Regions from separate parts of the Homo sapiens genome. Here region 1 is linked to region 2. The links are contacts of gene promoters, found by promoter capture Hi-C in human tissues and cell types (Jung and others, 2019). All regions are on one chromosome and are shown on one strand. The core of a region is centred on a gene start or on the middle of the fragment in contact, and the rest is flanking DNA. Distances in the headings are between cores, read along the strand shown. Region 1 has its middle 57 kb from the start of ERVFRD-1. Region 2 holds the start of ERVFRD-1 (endogenous retrovirus group FRD member 1, envelope).

The links. The method cuts DNA at HindIII sites, captures the fragments that hold promoters and counts their contacts. A contact is called where the count stands out against the background at its distance.
Region 1: a contact is called between a fragment that was not itself captured here and the fragment with the promoter of ERVFRD-1 in region 2, in 2 of the 25 tissues and cell types used here (adrenal gland and spleen).

What each region holds. Positions count from the first base shown.
Region 1 is chr6:11,165,508-11,172,076 of GRCh38, reverse strand. No RefSeq gene overlaps it. Among named protein-coding and RNA genes, the nearest start is that of ERVFRD-1, 57 kb to the right of the region's middle. The HindIII fragment of the contact is 5,253 bases long and covers 1-4,513 here.
Region 2 is chr6:11,108,745-11,115,650 of GRCh38, reverse strand. It overlaps ERVFRD-1 (endogenous retrovirus group FRD member 1, envelope), which reads left to right and starts at 3,926. Exons shown (of 2, transcript NM_207582.3): 1 at 3,926-3,974. All of the region lies in intron 1 of SMIM13 (small integral membrane protein 13), which reads right to left. The HindIII fragment of the contact is 12,472 bases long and covers 1-6,906 here.

The DNA.
Region 1 (6,569 bases), core at 638-3,137, 58 kb before region 2:
CTGTGGACCTTCGCAGTGAGTGTTACAGCTCTTAAGGCTGCCCGTCTGGAGTTGCTCGTTCCTCCCAGTAGGTTCGTGGTCTTGCTGGTTTCAGGAGTGAAGCTGCAGACCTTCACAGTGAGTGTTATAGCTCATAAAGGCAGTGTGGACCCAAAGACTGAGCAGTAGCAAACTTCACTGCAAAAAGCAAAAGAACAAAGCTTCCACAGCGTGGAAAGACACCCGTACAGAAAAGTACCCGAGCGGGTTACCACTGCTGGTGCAGGCAGCCTGCTTTTATTCTCTTATCTGGCCACACCCACATCCTGCTGATTGGTCCATTTTACAGAGAGCCGAGTGGTCTGTTTTGACAGGGCGCTGATTGGTGCGTTTACAATCCCTGAGCTAGACACAAAGGTTCTCCACCTCCCCACTAGATTAGCTAGATACAGAGTGTGGACACAAAGGTTCTCCAAGTCCCCACAAGAGTAGCTAGATACAGAGTGCCGATTGGTGTATTTACAATCCCTTAGCTAGACATAAAGGTTCTCCAAGTCCCGCCCAGACTCAGGAGCCCAGCTGGCGTCACCCAGTGGATCCCGCACGGGGCCGCAGGTGGAGCTACCTGCCAGTCCCGTGCGGTGTGCGCGCACTCCTCAGCCCTTGGGTGGTCGATGGGACTGGGCGCCGTGGAGCAGGGGCGCCGCTCGTCGGGGAGGCTCGGCCGCACAGGAGCTCACGGGCGTGGGGGAGAGGCTCAGGCATGGCAGGCTGCAGGTCCCGAGCCCTGCCCCGCAGGGAGGCAGCTAAGGCCCGGCGAGAAATCGAGAACAGCGCCGGTGGGCCAGCACTGCTGGGGGACCCAGCACACCCTCCGCAGCCGCTGGCCCGGGTGCTGAGCCCCTCATTGCCCGGGGCTGGCAGGCCGCTCCGAGTGCGGGGCCCACCGAGCCCACACCCACCCGGAACTCACGCTGGCCCGCAAGCACCGCGCGCAGCCCCGGTTCCCGCCCGCCCCTCTCCCTCCACACCTCCCTGCAAGCTAAGGGAGCCGGCTCCCGCCTCGGCTAGCCCAGGAAGGGGCTCCCACAGTGCAGCGGTGGGCTGAAGGGCTCCTCGAGTGCCGCCGAAGTGGGCGCCAAGGCCGAGGAGGTGCTGAGAGTGAGCGAGGGCTGTGAGGGCTGCCAGCAGGCTGTCACCTCTCAGCGCCATCTCGGCTCACCGCAACTTGTGCCTCCTCACTGCTTTAGCCTCCCGAGTAGCTTGGATTACAGGCTCCTGCCACCACGTCCCCCTGATTTTTGTATTTTTAGTAGAGACGGGGTTTCACCATGTTGGCCAGGCTGGTCTTGAACTCCTGACCTCAAGTGATCCGCCTGCCTCGGCCTCCCAAAGTGCTGGCATTACAGGCGTGAGCCACCACGCCTGGCTTGGAGGAGCCCTTTAAAGGAAAAAGAACATTGCAGGATCCTTAACAATAACTAAAAATAAAATTCCTTCAAAAGGCAGGATGTAGTGCCCATGAGTTACTGTTGTATTGTTTCCCCTTTATATAACCTTTTTCCACAATTACTTTAGTAACTTTGGTTGTTCTCGTTGAATGTCTATGTGATTTCTCTGCTGTAAGCTCCTGAGGTTGGATTTGCGCTGCACAGCAGATCCCTACAAGTCCCCTTCTCAGTGTTCCTTGAAGATCTTTTGTTTTATTGCTTGTTTCATAGTTCCCCGGGTGATCTCAGCTGCAATATACTCCTTTGCAAAGTTGCTGTAACCAGGCCAAAACCTGTCCCTAGATTTAGAATCCATGGTTTGGGATGACTGTGACGTTAATCACCCCATGCTCTCTGTCAACATGACCCAACACTTTCAGTACATCCCATCCTCATCCTCAGATCCTCATCCTCAGATCTTCAGCACTTACAGCATCTATAGGCCTTTCAACCATTGCACCAGCAAGCAAAACAACAATTATAGAGAAAATGGACAGAAGGCGAAACAAAAGAAAAGTTTTATGATCAATGAGCAAATTATAGGCAAACGTATTCATATTTAAGCATCAGGGGATATTTCATTTGTCCTGAGTAATTGATATGCTTTTTCTCATGGAAACAAGATTTTTGCAATTAACTGATCATGTTTTCCTTTACTGTAAAGGTCAGAGACAAATTTGATGCCCAATATCAGTAACTAGTAACTTATGGGTCCATCTGGGTTTTACATTTTCTCTCCATACCATCTTTTCTACCTAAATTATTCCTCAAAATTATTCCTCATCCTCTCTTTTTTAGCTACTATCTTTTTTTTTTTTTTTTTTCCTGAGATGGAGTCTCACTCTGTCGCCCAGACTGGAGTACAGTGGCACGATCTTGGCTCACTGCAACCTCTGCCTCCAGGGTTCAAGCGATTCTCTTGCCTCAGCTTCCCAAGTAGCTGGGACTACAGGTGCACACCACCACACCCAGCTAATTTTTAAAAAAATATTTTTGGTAGAGACAGGGTTTCACTATGTTGGCCAGGCTGGTCTCAAACTTCTGACCTCAAGTGATCCGCCCACCTCAGCCTCCCAAAGTGCTGGGATTACAGGCATGAGTCACTGCGCCCAGCCTTTAGCTACTATCTTTGATTACATGTGATTAGCCACATGTGAGAGCTCTGATGCTCTCTGAATGTATAAAGAAGCATGGGCTCTGCTCCTCCGTGTGCTGAGCCAATATGTTCCACAGTAGAAAGGGAGGGGCTCCAGAACTGCGGCTCATAGCAAGTTTTCTTCCATATACATCCACCACCAGGGTGCCAGGTGGAACAACTTCATCTGTTGGCAATTTCACACCCTAAATCAATCTTTCCTTGCAACTTCCCCCTGCCTCTGGTGTGAAACTGGCCCAGACTTCCATCTCTGCCATTATCAATCTCCCCTCCAGAAACCAATGCCCTTCCCAGAAATCCGGCATCAGACATGTTTTTATATGTTTGACCCTCAAAGACAGAAGTCAGGGTTAGGATTCCATTTCTTTTTCATTCAGGAGGCACCTCTGCCACTTTGTAATATCATCAATGCAAGCTTGACTTATTGGTGCCTGAAAACATCCAAGCCCGAAATACTCTACCTGGAGCCTGGTCCAGGCCCTACCCAAAGCCCTGCAACATCCATCTGTAAGCTTCATCACTGAAAGGCGCACAGACTTTCCAGCTGCAGGTGGAGGAAGTGCACCCTCCACTCTCCTCACGTTCCCCTAGAAGGGAAGGGCTTCTCTCCATCCTCACACACACACACTGCTCCTTATGACCGTGCCTCCACCTGGCAAGAAACATATTTCAGGCTCCCCACAGGCTGCTTATTAGATGCAAAGGAAAACTAGTAATTTACACCATGGGGAAATCAGTCAACGCCCTGGAGGGGAGGAATGATCAAAATCAACACCGCCAATGAGGTGAGAAGGACATCAGTGTCTCCAGAAATGAGACCTTTTTTGAGACGGATGCAGGATCACTTACGCAGTATTTCATTTTCTCGCCTCATCGTGAGGAAACATCAGACAAACACAATGAAGAACATTTGTTCTGTCTTTAAAAGGCACAGGGAAACTTATTCTGCTGCCTGTCATTGTTATGAAAGATAAAGGAAGGCTGTGGGAATGTTTCTGATTAAAGGAGGCCAGACAGACATGACAACTAGATCCAAATGTCGGGCCCTAGACTGGATCCCATCCCAGAGGAAATAAGAAAGGGCATTATTGGGTCAACTGTCATCATGGAAATACAGACTACCATTGAATAAATTAAATCAATGTTAAATTTACTCAAGTGGATAAATACTCGGTGGTTCTGTAAGAGAATATTCCTATTCTTAGCAAAGATGCACTCAAGTATTCTAGGGTAAAGGTGACTATATAGGCATGCGTGTTTTAGAAAAGCAATTTTATCTGTGTTAACAGTAAGTGGATCTCAGTAAAGGGTGTGTGCTATTGTTAGTCTCAAAGCTTTTCTGAAAATTTGGAATTATTTCCAAATGAAAAGTCAAAACAACAACAACAGCAGTTCAATCTCATCTAGAAGAGTTTGGCCTCAGTAATAGAACCTGGGTTTAAATCTCATCTCTGGCTCTTCAATGAGCTACTTCACTCTCTGCAGATCTTGATCTCCTCACCAATAAAATGGGCATAATCATAGTCGCTGTATCACAGACTTGTTAGAAGACTGAAAATTACAAATTAAACTTTACAAAGCATTGAGAACAGGGTCTGGCACATAGTCAGCTTCATATAAATGTTTAACAAATATATTGCCACCATTCTGAAATTGAAAACAAAAGAAGCACACAAAAATTTTCCAAATCTAAGAATTTCCTCTTGGGATCTGCTGACTGACTAAAATAATGTTAAGTCAACGTTTTCATAGATCGAGCATGAAGTGTGTGTTAATTGTTGGGTGACCAAGCAGAATCAAGTACAGTTGATCAAGCAGGGTTGGAAACGTGGGCGAGCTTAAGCTACTCACGCATTTCACTTTTGCAAAAGCCGTGAGATATATTAAGTAGATATTGAGTTAAAATAAGCACAGATAAAATAACTACTCGGTAATCTTCCAAACACATCTTTGGTATAATACTGAGCTTTCAGGAAATCAAGGGGGGAAATATGATAATATCCTATATGGCCTAGCCTTGCTATAGGATGCAAAGTAATTAAACCTCACAGGAGAATGACTTATTACATACCAAACACGTGGAAAAGGAAAGGCAAAAACTGCCTATCTTTGGCTTCTACAGTAATTTTTTCCTGGAGGAGAGCAGAGTTGGGGCAACTAAGAGTTTCTTTTGAAAGCTCCCAAAGTCTCTGGCCATTTGGCCGGGAAAGCCTTCCTGTCGGCAGGGCCTGAGTGAGCACTGTCTTCAAACCTCCCAGGGTCAGGTAGCTGCAGGCATCTTTGGGAAGCCACATGGTTAAACCTCCAGATTCCAGGAAGATTACTACCTAAAGCATCCAGGTGGATGGCAGGTCAAGGTGACTGCATCGAAGAAGTGTGATGAACGTTCACAGAGGTTTCTGCAAAGATTTACAACTCATCCATCCCTCTAGCTATGCTAAGCTTTATCCTGATCAAGCCAATCCACCCATGAGTTTGCACCTGGACCACACTGTCTTGGCCTCTTAAATCTCATAGAATTCCTCTTACTCTCTGACATGATATGACAGCCCTGCTCCTGTTATAAGAAATAGTTTCACTGTTCTGTTGATAAAGTGATGAACTTTTTTATATTATTACTTTAAACAAGAAATGGATTTAAACAGCAAGACACTTGACTTGAAGGAAAGCTATCTAGGATCATTTATTTTAGAGAAATTTATCCCACCTTAAAAACTGATTGCCGTACATGTAACAGCTGTGTACAAAAAGTCATGAGTCTCCTTGATTTCACAATGATAATTGAAACATATTGGAATTCTCTAATCAAATAAGTATGCAGAGGAGTCTGTTGTTGTCATTGCTATTGTTTGTCAAACAATGAAAGTAAAAAACTAAATGGGAAACAAAAATAAAAGTGGAACAAGCACACCACTAATGCATTCTTTTTTTTTTTTTCCAAGACAGAGTCTTGCTCTGTCACCCAGGCTGGAGTGCAGTGGTGCGATCTCGGCTCACTGAAACCTCTGCCTCCCGGGTTCGAGTGATTCTGCTGCCTCAGCCTCCTGAGAAGATGGGATTACAAGAGCACACCATCATGCCTGGCTAATTTTTGGATTTTTAGTAGAGACGGGGTTTCACCATGTTGGCCGGGCTGGTCTCAAACTCCTGATCTCAGGTGATCTGCCCATCTCGGCCTCCCAAAGTGCTAGGATTACAGGCATGAGCCACCATGCCCGGCCTAAGGGGTTCTTTCATAAGAAGGTTTTTCTCTACCTCATTTTCTTTTATTGTCTATATCACTAGCCATTTAGTTAAAAAAATAATAATAGTGTTATACAATAGATCTGATCACATATGTCAGTTACTTGATGTACAGTGAAGGGAGAGAACAAATGATGGGATAGAGAGAATTATGTGTACAAGTCAGGATGGGCTGGGCTCCAACTGTAATTTGCTAACTGAGAGTGTTTTTGTGTCTGTGGGTTCTGGTGTAAGGTAGTGAATCATGTGCATTTTCTTTTTTTTTTTGAAACGGAGTCTCACTCTATCGCCCAGGCTGGAGTGCAGTGGTGCAGTCTCGGCTCATCACAACCTCCACCTACCAGGCTCAAGCGATTCTCCTGTCTCAGCCTCCCAAGTAGCTGGGATGACAGGTGCGCTCCACTACACCTGGCTAATTTTTGTATTTTTAGTAGAGACGCGGTTTCACCATGTTGGCCAGGCTGGTCTCGAACTCCTGACCTCAAATGATCCACCTGCCTCGGCCTCCCAAAGTGCTGGGATTACAGACGTGAGCTACCGCTCCCGGCCTATCATGTGCATTTTCATCCTTCATTTCCAACTGTGCAGGTGCATCTGTTTCATTGATTATCCGCCCACCAAATTAGAATATGATCAGCCTCGGTGACAAATCCTGGCCTTCACACTAGGTTTATATTTAGTCACTAGTGCTCTGTGTCTCC
Region 2 (6,906 bases), core at 2,677-5,176:
GTAATGGGATAGTTAATCCCTTTATTAGGTTATATTATTTGGTAAAGATGAAGGGATTTTGAAACTATAATTAAGGTCTCAATCAGTTGATTTTTAGTTATTCAAAAGTGAAATTACCTTGGGTGGGCCTGACTCAATTAGGTAAAAACCTTAAAAGAGGGATTGGGACCCTCCCTGGTGTCAGAGATTCAACTGGCATGAAGAGGTGAGCCACCTTGAGTCCTCAGTCACAAGGAACTGAATCCTGCCAACAACCACATAAGCTTGAAGGAGGAACCCAAGCTCCAGAAAGGAACGCAGCCAGGCCAACACCCTGACTGCAGCTTTAGGAGCAGAGGACCCAGCTAAGCCAGGTGGAGACTCCTGACCCACAGAAACTGATATCTAATAACTGTGCGTTGTCTTAAGCTGCTAAATTTATGGGAATTTGTTATGCAGCAATAGAAAACCAATATAGCAATTGTATGTAAATGCTTCCAAAAATCCAAAGAGACAGGAACAGTACCCAACTCATGTAATAAGGTCTGCATTAACACGATGACAAAACCAGACAAGGGTGTTTAAGAAAACCACAAGTATTTCTCATGAATATAAAGAGAAAAATCTTAAATGTTTACTAAATTAATTGCTACAGTATAGAAAATGGATAACATGTCATGACCAAAACAGGTTTATCTGAGGAATGGGTTACTTTCACATTCGAAATGCAACAAAATCCACCATATTAACAGACTTAAAAGAGAAAAAATACAGCCGGGCGTGGTGGCTCATGCCTATAATGCCAACACTTTGGGAGGCCAAGGTAGGTGGATCACTTGAGGTCAAGAGTTCGAGACCAGCCTGATCAACATGGTGAAACCCCGTCTCTACTAAAAAATACAAAAATTAGCTGGGTGTGGTGGTACACGCCTGTAATCCCAGCTACTTAGGAGGCTGAGGCACGAGAATCACTTAAGCCTGGGAGGAGGAGGGTGCAGTGAGCCGAGATCATACCACCACATTCCAGCCTGGGCGACAGAGTGAGACTCCATCTCAAAAAAAAAAAAAAAAAAAAAAAAGAGAAAAAGTGCATGACCATCTCAATACAGAAAAATCATTAAAAAAAAAAATCCAATATCCACTCCTGATTTAAAAAAAAAAGAAAAATCACCACAAAGTAGAAACAGAGGGGAAGTTTTCTTCCTAAACTTGATAAAGAATATCTATTAAAATCCCACAGCTAATAATTTATTTAATGGTAAAAGGCTAAATATTTCACTCCAAAAGATCAGGGAGGAAGGTCTGCTCTCACTCCTTTCTTGCAACATTATAAGGCCCTAGCCAGTGCAATGAGGCAAAAGCTAAAAGACAAATGTACACATTGGGAAGAAAAGGTAAAACTACCTTCAACTGCCTGTAATCCCAACACTTTGGGAGGGCGAGGCAGGTAGATCACTTGAGATCAGGAGGTTGAGACAAGCCTGGCCAACATGGTGAAATCCCATCTCTACTAAAAATACAAAAATCAGCCAGGCGTGGTGGCGCGCACCTGTAATCCCAGCTACTCAGGAGGCTGAGGCAGGAGAATCGCTTGAATCCTGGGGGCAGATGTTGCAGTGAGCCAAGACCGCGCCATTGCACTCCAGCCTGGGCGACAGAGTGAGATTCCGTCTCAAAAAAATTAAAAAAAAAAAACAAAAAGAATAACTTTATATGTCATACCTTAAAAACTTGATAAGAAGGACTTATCAAACAATAACAACACAAAACAAATGACATTTAAAAATAAAAAGGCAGCCGGGTGCGGTGGCTCATGCCTGTAATCCCAGCACTTTGGGAGGCCGAGATGGGTGGACCACCTGAGATCAGGAGTTCGAAACCAGCCTGGCCAACATGGTGAAACCCTGCCTCTACTAAAAATACAAAAATTAGCTAGGTATGGTGGCACATGCCTGTAATTCCCAGCTACTGGGGAGACTGAAACAGGGCAACCTTTTGAACCCAGGAGGCGGGGGCTGCAGTGAGCCAAGATTGTGCCACTGTACTCCAGCCTGGGCAACAAAGCAAGACTCCATCTCAAAAAAATAAAAATAAAAAGGCAAGCTACAGAATAGAAGAAAATACTTGCAAAACATATCTGATAAAAACAAACAAAAAAAACTTGTATCCAGAATAAAGAATTGTTTACAACTTGATAAAAGTAACACAATTTTTTAAATGAGTAGAAAAAACTTGTAAAGATGATTTACACAGAAGGTAGAAAGAATGGCAAATAACACATAAAAGATGCTGAAAATAATTAGTCATTAATGAAACAAAAATCAAAAGCATAATACCCATCCTCTAGAATGGCTAAATTAAAAACAGACAATACCATCAAATGTTGGTGATGGATGCGGAGTAACAAATTCTCACTCATGACTGCTGGCAATGCAAATGTTTGGCAGTTTCTCAAGAGAAATGAAGTTACTCAAGAGAAATGAAAACATATGTCTACACCAAGATTTGCAACTGAATGTTAATAATACTACTAACTACTAATACTACTACTACAGGCTCACGCCTGTAATCCCAACACTTTGGGAGGCCCAGGCGGGTGGATTACTTGAGGTCAGGAGTTCGAAACCAGCCTGGCCAACATGGTGAAACCCCGTCTCTACTAAAAATACAAAAAAATATATAATAAAATAAAATAAATTAGCCAGGCATGGTGGCAGGTGCCTATAATCCCAGCTACTTGGGAGGCTGAGGCAGGAGAATTGCTTGAACCCAGGAGGCAAAGGTTGCAGTGAGCCAAGATCATACCACTGCACTCCAGCTTGGGCGACAGAGCAAGACCCCATCTCAAAAAAATAAATAAATAAAACAATAATAATACTAACAGCCAAAAGCTGGAAACCACTCTCATGTCCATCAATGAGTAAATGGATAAACAAATTGTGGTATATCTATACAATGGAATACTCTTTCAGCAATACAAAAGAATGTATTACTGATATACACAACACAAATAGATTTCAAAAGCATTATGCTAGCAGAAAGAAGTCAAACACAAAAAGCATGTTGTGTGATTTGATTTACATTAGAAAGGTAAATTTATGTTTATGGAAAGCAGTTTGGGCCAGGTGTGGTGGTTCATGCCTGTAATCCCAGCACTTTGGGAGGCCAAGGACAGCAGATCACTTGAGGTCAGGAGTTCAAGATCAGCCTGGCCACCATGGTGAAATCTTGTCTCTACTAAAAATACAAAAATTAGCTGGGCATGGTGGTGCACACCTGTTAATTCCAGCTATTCAGGAGTCTGAGGCACAAGAATCACTTGAACCCGGGAGGTGGAGGTTGCAGTGAGCCAAGATTGCATCACTGCACTCCAGCCTGGGAGACAGAGCGAGGCTGTCTCCAAAAAAAAAAAAGCAAGCAGTTCTATCAGGAGGCCATTAGGTTAAGCTGGTTCTGTTAGAGTAGGTAGTCAGGCAGACATGAGCAGGGCAGGAGAGGGCCCCCAGCTCAGGAATGTCAGGCGACCATCAGGTGATGATCAGGCGGTTGTTACACTGTTTCTCTAAAATAATAATAATGGGTTGCAGCCAGTACCAGGGAAAGACAGTCTCCCAAAAGACAGGAAACACCGGAAGCTGGTGATCAGCAACTTCCTGATAAGATCTCCGAAGCTGGGCAAGTGGGCTCAAGCATGCGCACTAAGAAGCAAAATGACAGTTTAACCAGTATGTGACCTTCCTCTAGGAACACCTGACTGATAAGGGAAAAATGTCTCAAGAAAGCATGCGCACAACTTCAGTAAACAAATGCACATGTGGCTCCTCCCAAGTGCTGACAGGCCACTGCACAGCAGACAGCCCACCCCAAGGAAAAAAATCCAAGGAGGAGAAATGGAAACCCCGGAACCATGCCGATGTATAAAACCCCAAGTCAAGGGCTGAACAGGGCACTTGGATCTCTCAAATGGTGCAGTGACTCGGATACCTTCCCTAGTGGTAAGACACCTCTACGCCTTGCCTTCTTCGGCTGGAGGCGTTCAACCCTCGTACGTGGTTTCGTTCTCCTCTTTCACTCTCCTGCTTACTAACCTACCCCTGGAACGATTCCTCTCAACCACAGTGGCTCTGCTCCCCCTGGCTGCTCTCTCTGCTCACCCCGAAGGATGGCTTGCAGGGGTGGGAAGGACCTTGGAGTCTGCACTAAGTAGACCTGAGACACTAATGGCCCCCCCAGACAGGAGGCTGATGAGAGCGGTAGGGCTAAAACCTACAACCATGTAGTATCTGGGGTTTCCTCTGCTTTTTCAACTAAAATCAGCTCTTTCCCAAAAACCCACCACCACCTATTTTCCTTTCTCTGTATGTATTCCAAAATGACCTCGCACACCCATTGGACCAACTGCCTTGGGGGTAAGTCTGTCTTTTCTCTGTTCTTACTTTGCATGCCCTGCAACTTTCTTCTCTGCCTTAAACACACATTCCCTATTTGTTATTCATGCACCCGCAGCTCTTGCTGTGTTAGCCTGGCAACCAAGAGATGGACTCCCTTACGGATGTCCCTTGATATTTATACTTGTTACCCTACCAGCTCGGATGACCTCCAACCCTTTCCCTGTCTGTTGGCTCACTGCCGGGATAGACACTAATCAGAACCTTAGCTCTGTCAGCTCCTTATGACTTACCATATGCTTTTCATCCCTGTTATGCTCCAGGGCCATGTTTCTCCCTGGCTTTTGAATGGTTTGCTTGCTTGCATAGGACCTCACTCTGTAGCCCTTAAGGACCCCACCCACTCGCTTTTTTTCTGAGTTAGCACCCCTTTGTGGGGAAGGAAAATTCTCTGCCGTTTGCAGGGTCTTATCCCAAACACCAAGTCCTCCAGAGGTTCCTCCTTTATATCAAGAGGGCAAATAAACGTTGCCCTCTCAAATCCAAGGGCTGCTGTTTCTGCAAACATATGAAGGCTTTCCATGAGTATTCCTCTTGCTTCCTCCCGCTTTCTCCTGTAGCAGAGGGATTGTTCTACCTCGTTAAGCATTTGTTCTGCATGTTACCCTGGGAGGATGAAGAATCCCAAATACAAATTTTCCTCCATTCCTCTAATCACCTCCAGGCCCTTCTCAATATGTATCAGGACCTTCAAAGTTATATTTGAAGGGAGAGAAGTCCAGCCCCCTTGCAGCAATTGGCAGAAAAACAGGCTTCTCGTCTTCTTAAAGAACATGGGAAATGAGAATCTGAGAAGAGATAATCATTCTGTTGCTAGAATGCTCTGAACAAGGGTCACTATAAGGTCATGGAGACAAGGATATAGGACAGCCCAAGGAGGCAGATGCAAGAGACCAAAGTACCCATAGAACAGAGATGAAGACTAGTTCCAGGCTACAAACACAAAACAGATTACCACTGCAACACAGATGAAGGCTGGTCCAGAAATGGGATGGGATCAGGGTAGGGGTACCCAGTAAACACTGGGTTCATTCCAGAACCCCTTGGATGAGTGGGAGGGCACCCTGTTCACTGTAGTCTGCCATAGGCACAGGATTAAGAGAACAAGGGGAGATGCCCTCTTCTCGCCTCTGTTCTTTCTTTACAAACGGGTAATTGTGCCTCAATAAAACAAGATGGGACCAAGGTTAGGGGTACCTGGTAAGCACTGGTTCATTCTGGAACCCCTAGAATGAATGGGGGACACTGCCATACGCAAAGGAAAAATGGATGAATGGGGTAATGCCCTACCCACTCTGGTCTGCTGTAAGTTCAGGAAAAAGACAGTAGGGAAATTGGAGGGGTTGCCTTCTTTTTCTCTTCTCTCCTCTGTTCTCTCTGTGGACAGGTAATCAAGTCTCTGTACCACAGGACACACTACTAGGATACATCCTCAAGAACTGGGAAAAGTTTGACTCCCAAACCCTAAAAAGGAAAAGGCTAATATTTTTCTGTAATACAGCCTGGGTTGAATAAAAGCTCTAGGACCAGGAATCTTGGCCAGAAAATAGAAGCACAAATTTAAATATGATCCATCAACTAGATTTGTTTTGCTACCACCAGGGAAAATGGACAGAAATCCCCTATGTGCTGGCCTTCATGGCCCTAAGAAACAACCCTGACCTTTGTTGGGCTTGTAAAACAGATCCATGGCCATAGTCATGCAGCCCCTTCCCATTGGTTCAGAAGGCCCCTCATCAGGTTTACCCAGAGCTCAAGCCCCATTGCCCCTTCTACCCAATTATATCGAAGTCTCCCAGAAGCCTTCTCCTCCCTACCCAGGGCCATCCTCTGGACACCACCTCCTTAAGTTATGCCCCATTCAGGAGGTTTAGTGGTCCCAGTGGACCCACTGGAGTCCAGACTCCATTCACTGTGCAAGACCTGAGCCAAATTAAAATGGAACTAGGGAAGTTTATGGAGGACCCTGACAAATATATCAAAGTGTTTTATAAACTGGGCTTAACATCTGAACTCACCAGGAGGGACCTCTCAGTCATACTAGGGCAAACTCTGCCTAAGGGAGAATGTGACTCCATTATGGTGGCGGTCCAACAATTTGCAAACACAATGCACATGCCTGACACTGGTGGCTACCCTGTGGGGGCCACCATAGTTCCCCAGGTCAACCCCAATTGGGATTACAATATCCAGGGGAGTACATGAGCAAGGACCCACATGTTCCTCTATCTGATAGAAGGAATGAAAGCTAGCAGAGCAAAGCCTGTGAACTGTAATAAATTGGGCTTGACAGATCAAGGGCCTTATGAAAACCTCACCATTTTCTTAGACAGGCTAGAAGAGGCCCTAGTGAAACACACTAACCTAGACCCAGACCCACTAGAAGGACAACTGTTCATAAAGGATCATTTCCCTAACTCAAACAACACCAGATATTAGGAGGAAACACCAGAAACTAGCACTGGATCCCAGTACCCCT